3 separate regions of the Homo sapiens genome follow, and regions 2 and 3 are each linked to region 1. Evidence: promoter capture Hi-C in human tissues and cell types (Jung and others, 2019). All regions are on one chromosome and are shown on one strand. Each heading gives the region's core, a stretch centred on a gene start or on the middle of the fragment in contact. The rest is flanking DNA. Distances are from core to core; before and after follow the strand shown. Region 1 holds the start of RIT2 (Ras like without CAAX 2). Region 2 has its middle 29 kb from the start of SYT4. Region 3 overlaps RIT2 (Ras like without CAAX 2).

Evidence for each region. The method cuts DNA at HindIII sites, captures the fragments that hold promoters and counts their contacts. A contact is called where the count stands out against the background at its distance.
Region 2: a contact is called between a fragment that was not itself captured here and the fragment with the promoter of RIT2 in region 1, in 2 of the 25 tissues and cell types used here (bladder and hippocampus).
Region 3: a fragment that was not itself captured here is called in contact with the fragment with the promoter of RIT2 in region 1 in 2 of the 25 tissues and cell types used here (hippocampus and mesenchymal stem cells).

The regions. Positions count from the first base shown.
Region 1 is chr18:43,114,040-43,117,235 of GRCh38, reverse strand. It overlaps RIT2 (Ras like without CAAX 2), which reads left to right and starts at 1,551. Exons shown (of 5, transcript NM_002930.4): 1 at 1,551-1,819. The coding sequence starts at 1,717. The HindIII fragment of the contact is 9,119 bases long and covers 1-3,196 here.
Region 2 is chr18:43,247,107-43,250,302 of GRCh38, reverse strand. No RefSeq gene overlaps it. Among named protein-coding and RNA genes, the nearest start is that of SYT4, 29 kb to the left of the region's middle. The HindIII fragment of the contact is 4,458 bases long and covers 1-3,196 here.
Region 3 is chr18:42,978,141-42,981,336 of GRCh38, reverse strand. All of the region lies in intron 2 of RIT2 (Ras like without CAAX 2), which reads left to right. Among named protein-coding and RNA genes, the nearest start is that of RIT2, 140 kb to the left of the region's middle. The HindIII fragment of the contact is 7,856 bases long and covers 1-3,196 here.

The sequences.
Region 1 (3,196 bases), core at 302-2,801:
GACTTACATCCGAAATATATAAAGAATTCTCAAAGTGCAATAAGGAAATAAACACCTTGGTATAAAAATAAGCAAAAGACTTGAACAGATACTTTGGCAAAGAAGATATACAGATGGCCAATAAACACATGAAAAGATAATCTTCTCTTCTTGGGCGAGTGTTTGTAAACAGTAGACTGACAGCAGCACAGATTCAAAATAATAACATACTCTTCATATCATATACCTGTGTGGTACTTATCACTTGTCAGACACAGTTTTAAGCACTATATAAATATTAGCTCACTTAATGAGTTAACAAAGTAGGGTTTTAATTAACTATTCAGTGATAAAGAAATTGAGGCACAGAGAGGTGAAGGAATTTGCCTAAGGTCATATAGCTGGTAAGTGGCTAAGCCCAGATTTGAACACAGGCATTCTGGCTTCAGAGACTGTGCTCTTGGCTATAACAATTTGAAGCCTCTACAGAAACCAGCAAGTATATATTGAGTGCCTACTCAGTGCACATATTATAGAATCACAAGAAATGGACTAAATATAGTTCTTTTCCTAGTGGAGCTTAAAATCTAGATAGAAAGACAAGTCTAGTCTATGCACACCAAACACTTGTCTGCATCTGATAATGATTCAAGCTTTAGAAAATAGACAATAAACATGTTAAACATCATCATGTTGATTAAAAGACAGGATCTTATTATGACAATTAGGAATTATTGAAAACATTCTTGACCCTCTGTAGTTTAGAAGTTCTTTAGAGAAAAACAAAGACCGCAAAGCTTTATAAGAATTCAAACAGGTAATAATAGTTTGGACATTTAAAAATATTCTTCTACAATCTTTTATGCTAGTATAATTGTCAGTAAAAATATTTATCAATTATCTCTTTCATGCTTGATAGTCCTTGTGATTTAAGTTGTTTCTAATAACTTAACGTAAACAAGCATGAGCCTTGTCCAAATATGACAATGATCTAATTCAATTACCCCCCTATGTTAAACCTGCAACTGTCTAGTGAGCTGAACAATTCCTGTTAGCCGGCTGTTATTTCAATAACACTGAAGATCCATCCTTATGAGCCCTGAGTTACTGTTCTGTTTTGTTTTTGTTTTGCTTTTCCATTTTCCCGGAATGAAAACTGCAATAGAAGAGTGATAAAATGCAAGACTATAAGCAGAAGAAATCCTTATTAATTGACTTTGATTAAAAGAAAATAGCATCTTTGAAGCTGTACCTACAGAAGTCATCCTGTGAGACATAGCAACTCCTGTGAGGTCTCAGATTCACTCCATTCTAGCAGCGCAGCCTGAAAAGGGGTCGAATGTGTGTGTGCCACTGACAACTGTGACTGTGCAGGGGGTAGGCAGGAAAGAGAAAGGAGAGAAACAGACAGTGGGGAAGGGAAATGGAGAAAGAATCAAATGAGGGAGGAAATGAAAATGAGAGAGAGAGAGAGAGAGAGATTGTAGGAGACGTGAAAGAGTGAAGGATCGGAAGGAAGGGTGGGGGATGCAAAAGCCAGATTTTTATTGGAAGCAATTGAAGTGGTTGCTATGAGACCCGCTCGAGCGGAGGACCAGCAGCCAGCCCGACGCTGATGGTTCTTACCTCGTACTAAAACCTTTGCTTTGACACAGTTTTAGAGTTGCTTAATATTCGAGCAAGCACCTGACACGGGTGACTTTCTCCTTCTTTTTTTCCTCCGGTCCCTCGGGTAAGATGGAGGTAGAAAATGAAGCCAGCTGCTCCCCGGGCAGCGCATCAGGCGGGTCCAGAGAGTACAAGGTGGTAATGCTGGGAGCAGGGGGAGTTGGTAAAAGCGGTAAGTTTTCACACCAAATGCTGGGGAAGGAGGGACCTCTATAGAGACAACTCTATAGAGTGAAAGAAAAATGATATTGCTGATGCTGTTAGAGGTGAACTGTGGCAGTTAAACACAGAGTATGGGTCTGGCAGGATGCTCCAAAGTGTCAGGACTGTTAAACCGATGCTGATGAGTCAGGATAATGCAGACAGCCAGTGATGATCCTCAGAACCTTAAGAGGATGATTGTTTTCTTTGATTTCATGCTGGGTGATATTTGCTCTTAGTGTATAGGTCTTTTTTAATAATAAAAATAAGTATGAAATTGTCATGGTATGAGAAAAATGTGCTCCTAGTCTCAAAAATCTTCACATAAAGAAAGAAGTGCTATGAATATTCAATTAAACACAGTTACAAACACAGACATATACTCGGGATGATGGGTGTTGATTGTTGTGTTTGTTTCTTTCATTAGGAGGTTCTTTTTCCTCATCTGTAGTCTGACATGGTGTGTGTGGGCTTTGAATACCAAAAGAAAGTTGGTTTTTGAAAGTGGCAGTGATTTATGGAATGATATTCATTGTGAGTCCTGTGCAGGGTGATCAAACTAAACTTTGTGGTCAATTAAAGGAGAAAGCTACACAAATAAATGAAGATGAGGTGATAATAGAGATGAAGAATAGCAAATTTCTTTTGGTACATAAAGAACGGAAGTGTCAGTTGTTGGGATTCTTGAGGAGCCTAAAAGGCCAAATATAAAAAAATTAAAAAAATAGATACATAGTAGTTTTTTGGCTGATCAAATGTTAGATAGCTCGGAGCTATGGCTATCACTAGAAAATAAATAAATATAGCTTTTTATATAAATATTAAATATCTCCACTGGGAATATATCTTTGGGAATTCTAAAAGGTAGAAAAAATATTATAGTTAGCATGGACAAAAAGCATCAAAACAAATCAGTAGTTTTAGTGTTGACAAAAAAATTAAAAGACGAAGACAATATTTTCGGCAGAAGAAACCAAAAAACTAACAACTTTGGTGGATGGGTCCACAAGGGATAGGAAAACTGAACAGTAAAGGAAGAGGAAGGAGATTGTGACTTTAGTGGACAACAAAGTTAAAGATAGTAAGAAACATAAAATTCAGCACCCCTACCTCTTCTCCTCACCCTACAAAAGAGAATTCTCATAAAAAATAAAAGAAATAGGTACATCTGGATGTGGTCAGTAGCAAAATGCATATCAAAGTGAAAAAAATTATTCATCTCTTCTAGGGAGGCAAAAATATGAAAGAAAAGCTTTGTAATTGTGTATAAATGAGGAATTTTTAAAAAGCTTTCTCCTCTAAATATAATGATTTGAGAAGGAAGGAATCAAAATAGGTTAGGATTTAA
Region 2 (3,196 bases), core at 356-2,855, 130 kb before region 1:
AGTGAACAGTATGGTAATGTGCACTTCAAAATTTGTTAAGAAGGTAGATTTCATGTTAAGTGTTCTTATCACTAAACAAGATAAAAAAGTGAAATAAAAACAAAGGAACAAAAGGAAACTTTGGAAGACGTTGGACATGTCTATAACCTTGATTGTGGTAATGGTATCACACAATTGTTTGCATGTGTTCAAACTCATGAAATTGTAACCTTAAATATGTGCAGTTCTTTGCATATCAATTATGCCTTAAGATATTGTTAAAAAAGAAGAAAAAGATAATTCATTCAAGAAACCATTCCACCTTATCCTTCTTTCGTCAAACTCAGTGCTTTAGGGTTACCCTTTCACTGCCTTCCGTCACTTGGAAAGGCATTGCATCCCCGGACATTGGCTGCTCGTGCTGGAAAACTTTCCCTCTCTCTTATGAAAAAAAAATATTTTTCCTATGTCTTTTTATGACCGAGCTTTGTTTCATGGAGTGATACAAATGGACATTAACGAGTTAATTCTGTAATCTGAATTATTCAATTTTATTGGCTGGTCTGTGCTACCTTCCTAGCATCAGGAGGGATTGATTAAGTTAAAACCAATATATTTTGGAGGCCTCCAAGAGATAACACTACTTCTGGCAGTGACAGTAGCTGTTGCAGGGACTCTTTTTGAACAAGAAAGTACTCATGCACAGCATCGCCTCTTCACTCTTATGTGTACATTCCCAGCAGTATGTTTCACAGGATGTTACAAAATAAACTTTATATTAGCAGGACTATCCAAAATCCCAAGCTTTTTCTACTCTAGCAACATAAAAGATCACACTTCACCTCACCTGAAGGAAGGTGGATGAGGCAGATGATTTGTTTGAGTATAGAAAAGTAATGTTGTCATTTTATGTGGAAGTTTTGAGAGCCAAGAATGTGTTTCCAGATTCTTTTTTTCCTGTATTATGTTGGTGTTTGGAAATGTTTCAGATAGAATTGTTGCTCTGTCACCCTCACTCCCATGATACGAAGATGAGCTCCCAGCTAATCCACTGTTGTTGAAGCTACTAAAATCTGTGACTTGCTTGTTTGCGAATATTATTCCCTAAGCCTTAAAACAGCCATTTAAGAGGTAGGAAGACTTTCTCAATGTCATATAATTGGTTGGAAGCCTAGTACATTAGAGGTGATGACCAGTTCTGTGATTTTTTTCACTCTGCTCTTCTCCCAGCATTAAATTCTAACATTGTGTTTAGCAACTCTGTTCATCTAAGGTCTCCTTTTTGGAACCATTATACTCACACCTTTAGTCTTTTCAAGTTTTCTACCTGTGTTCCCTTTTGCAGAGTTGCCTTCCTTTAACTCTACTAAATGTGTTCCCTTCAAACTAACTTTAGGATGCTATGAATTTTTGTAAAGGGTGAAACATGAGTGAAGAAATCAAATACCATTTATAAACCACAAATTCAGCACAATTCATTTGTACAAGATAGTGTAGAAAGGAAAACCTGGAAATGTTGGAATCATGAGTTGAAAGTCCAACTGGCAACAAAGCTCAGGAAGTATTTAGCAAGCACATTTATTTCCAGATCAGATAACAGGCTATTCAAATTTTACATGTTTCACTGAAATGTATTCCAGAGAGTAAAAAAGTATGCATAATTCTCTGAGAATACTAAAGAATATGGAAAAGAATGAACTAGTAAACATTTAATTGTGATAAGGGAAGAAATTGATGTTACAGTTCTTCAAGTGTTTGGGCATGTTTTTCTGGTTATATTTGTTGAGAAGATGTTATATCTAGGAATTTCAGAGTAAATTTTTTATTTTATTAATAACTGCAGTCACACTTTTCATCATTAGCAGCCTCACAGCTCTCTCAAACCTTTTTCTTGTTCGTTATTATTATACTTTGATGAGTTAATCTTGCTGTGTAGACAGCTCCCTTATTTTATGTAAGCATCCTTTCTGTCATAATATTTTATTCTTTTTCTTTACTCCAAGTTCTCATTAACTTCAGAAAATGACCTCTATTCATTTAACTAGGAATCTTACCAACCAAGAGGCAGCTTAGCATGGCTAGAAAATGTACAAACTTTGCCAACAGACACATCATGATTTTAACTTCATCATTCTCCATTATTGGTTAGGTGACATTGAGCAAGTTATTCTGCAACTTGGTTTCCTCATCTTGTGCAATGCATAACTACCTTGCAGGCTTTCATGAAACAGTATATGTAAAGTGCTTGGTAAAACACAGATGTTCAGGATTTGAATCTTCCCTCTACTATACTGCACTCACAGGCCTGGCTCTGCAAGGCTGGGTTTCTTTGGAGAACACGGCATAGTCATAAACTCTCCTGTCACTTTTTTCTCACACTGCAAAGGTGTTTAACATCAAGGTTAAGAATAGATAAAATATGGTTGGGGTCATCTTTTCCTGCCATTGCTATGCTTTTATATGGGCCTATCCATAAAAAACAACCTGGGTTCAGTAGTATTTAAACAAGTCTTCCTATCTGATTTTCTTTTCCTGTGTTTAATATTTTTTCCTCATCATATGTGGGAAGCAAAAGTCTTTTAAAATTCATAGACAATGAATTTTGTCTCATGTCTTCATTACATTTTGTTTCTTTTGACTCAACCTCAGCATTTCTATCTATTCACACTCTGTATCATAGTGTTTTGGCCCTTCTTAAGTACCAACGTGGGATCTGCCATTTTCCTTTATTCTATTCTGAATAGAAACTTTTAAGCTTTCACCTAATTTTTACCTCATGCAGCAGTTATGTTATCTGCACACACATTCTTGCTTTATTAATTCTCCTTGGAAATCCTTGAGTACACTGTCTCACAGCCATAAATCCATGTCTAGTCCATCCTGTATTTACTTGCTTACTGCTACCAACAGCTTAGTACTGATACTGGTAAATAAAAAAAAAAAAAAAAAAAAAAAACCTTGGACTAAAAGTCATGGATCCTCAACTGTGGATAAAAACACATTAAGCATGTAAACATAAGAAATGGAGCAAGTAAATTAAATTATGAAATCATTTCCCTTCACCTTATATATTTAGAGGCGATTGCCACAACTGCTCCCACTCCCCAAATGTTTAGATGATTCAACATAATTTAGGTCCTGTTTCCATCTAGGAATTGATCCAAATGGAATGTAGGGTACTGCAAGCTGAGCATTTCTGCCAACTTTTCCATCTGAG
Region 3 (3,196 bases), core at 212-2,711, 140 kb after region 1:
ATTTCTGTGAAGAAATAATATGTATTTAAGCTCATTCTGTCATATACAACCTCTGGAAGACAGGTATTGCAGAGATCATGGTCTTAGGATCATAAAGCCATTTTTCAAGGGTATTTTTGAGGTGTTAAAAAGGTAGACCAAGAGATGCCAGGTGCTGGGGAGGAAAGATTATTTTCTTCTCTTCCCCTTCATCCCCAAGCAATAATTAAGTGAGGCAGACACAAAGAACTGGAGACATTCAGCATCAGTGACCGTGACCTAGTCCTGTTGCTCATATTTATTTGGCAGAAGACAGCCAGGGAATTAGGTTTCCAATGGATCCTTCTACTCTCTCAGGTTGAAAGGAAAAGATTAAATGTTTCTAACATATGAGAGACACACTGAAGCATTTTCTGTAGATAATGACTTTGGGGAAGAGCAGTCATTTGGCTGTTCCTTCTGCATACTCTTGCCAGGGCTACATGTCCCCTCATCAGAAGATCAGTATATTCCTTATCAAATACATCTCCATCTGCTTGTCCTTGATCTGATAAGTCATTGTTTAAAATGACATCTTCCAGTAGTGGTCCTCTGTACCTGCAAATCTCCAGGTAGGGTTCTGTGTCTCCACAGGACACACCCCAGCTTGCCCTTCCTCATTGGGTTTTCTGTTCTTGGCAAGGCCTCCTGCAGAGGAGTCCAGGGGCACAGACATTCTGACAAGCATGTTAGTCACTGGAGAATCTGCCTGCAAACACCACAGAAAGTGTGTGATTGGCCACTTTGGGCAGACTTTCCAGAGCAGTAACACTGGGAATCTCCGGGGGGTATCAGAGAGATACTGATTGGTATCAACTACCCTATTACCTACCTAGTGGTAGTGGGGTAGTTGACACCAATCAGCATCCCTCTGATACTAGGGAGATTCCATCTATATAAATAGATGCTAGTGGGGTAGTTGATTTCTGGGGGAAAGATTTCAATTGCTGTGTAAGTCAGATATCATCTGGAAGCTCCTATTTCTCAGAGACCTAAGTAAACTGTACTGAATTCTCAATATTACAGCATGAGAAAAAATCCATGCTCTGCCTTATAATTCCTGTGAATTTCTAGGGTTTAGGTCCTTGTGGTACCCTGTCTTCAGCTTTTACTTCTATGATAGGAAAGGTTGTTCTTCTTTGCCCTGAGTCGTCCCACAAACTCAGTTCAGCCAGTTTTACAAGCCTTTTTCACAGCCAACAAACAGGTAGACTTTTATGACATTTCACTGAATGTTTAGGCCCAAAGGAAGGGTTACATCAGATCTCATGCAACTTCTTTTCTCTTTTCGTGGCAGAGCCCTCCTTGTCTTCCTCCTTCCTAACTCTGTTTTCAATCCATCACTTGAAGAACTGACCTTAGCTCAACATCAGTTCCTCTGAGTGTTCTCTGACATCTCCCTAAATAAGCACCCTTCAAAGTACTTCTAATGTAGCACTCATTAAAATACAGTGCAATTGCTTTTTTATGTATTCCCACAAGATTATAAATTCAATGTGGGTGGAAACCACCTGGCTTTTTCAGTTGTGTAGACTGTATTGCCATCTGAGTGTGCAGCACCTATTACATACTCAAATACATATTGAACCCTTTATTGATCAATATATTGATACATACATTAGATTTGTATCAATGCTGATTCATCCAGGATTTAACATTTTGGTCAAGAAAAAGTGTGCAGCACAGTACGTTGCAAGATACTTCTGCTCTGTACACACAGACACACATATGTACCTACAATTGAGATGATTTATTCAAGTAATCCTTTGAGAAAGATCTTATAAATTGATTCTATGAGACTTTGTACTATTTATTGCCTTTAAAAAATTTGGGTCAGTGATTAATATCTTGGAGGTGTATAATAGCTTGGAGTTATAGAAAAATAGCTTCATTGTAATATGAATTATATATTTCAGATTATGAGGTAAACCATGTAAGAAGTATTCAATCATCTTAAGATATTTGAAAATCATTTAATGAAAATTTACCATTAAATTTCTGATATTTTTTTCTTAGTTATATATTTTGGTGGTCTTATATTATCCTAATTTTATATTTGCAACTAAAATATTTTAAAATTATGTAAATGAATATGTTTATTCTGAAAAAAATACATTAGCTGCTTTGGGAAAATTATCCAGAATACCTTACACTTTTTAATTAATCAAAAACTTTATATTTCTAGTTATTATTGCAAACATATCTTGCCAAAAAGTTTATGATTTACTTGGGAAAAACATTTCCACATGGGTAAATATAAATAGCAGAAATAATTTAGTTTTAATTTAGTTTCATGGCTAATTTGAAGCAGTACTAAATAAAACTCATAACATAATATTCCTTGAGTTTGAATTTTGCTTTCTTTTTTCAAAAGCACTGTCTTATGTGCTACTTTTGTTGATCCTTATAGAACTCCCATGCGTTGACTAGTGTTACTATTATCGCCATCTTACAAATAAGGTTTCATGGCCAACCAATAACAGATATTTAGTGATAGATTTGAGGCTTTAATATAGGTCTTTAGTGATTTCTTCTTATGCAATTCTGCTGAAGAGGGACAGTGGAGAAGATATATCCTGAGAAGCAATGATCTCAAATTAAACATTAGTACTTTGAGATAAATTTTAAGGTAGTGGATGCCTCCAAGAATGCAGTCCTAGTGTGCTTTTCTGCGCAAATGATACAGCAGGCAGCTGCTACCATTTCTGCCTGATAAAGCTTTGTATACATTTGGCCTCATGCTTGAGAAGATAAATGAGTTCACTTCAGGATTGGGTCTATAGGCAGATGATTGAAATTCAGGGAAGTGTTTATATGCATTCAAGAGAGTATTTCTGACAGTGTATTTCTGCATGGGTGGTCTCAAAGGGAGTGAATGAATGGAAACAGAAAGATTGTTTATGGGGAGGAAATGAAAAGGATTAGTTTCTATGGAGGCCAGGCAGGTGACCTAGATTCCCCACAATGAAATGTGTACTCTGATAGACACTTTTTAAAAGAGAGAAAAAAAAAAAGCCGTGGATAAAAGGTCTGGCTTTAGTTTCTAGCCAATTCTCATCAAGTCCCTTTGAAGGGATTTTCTGATCCCAAGAGAAGCTTTTATTTGATATACGTTTCATGTGCTGGGCTTATCTAGAGCTCAGATAATCACACAGAGGAGTTCTCACCTAGATTACTC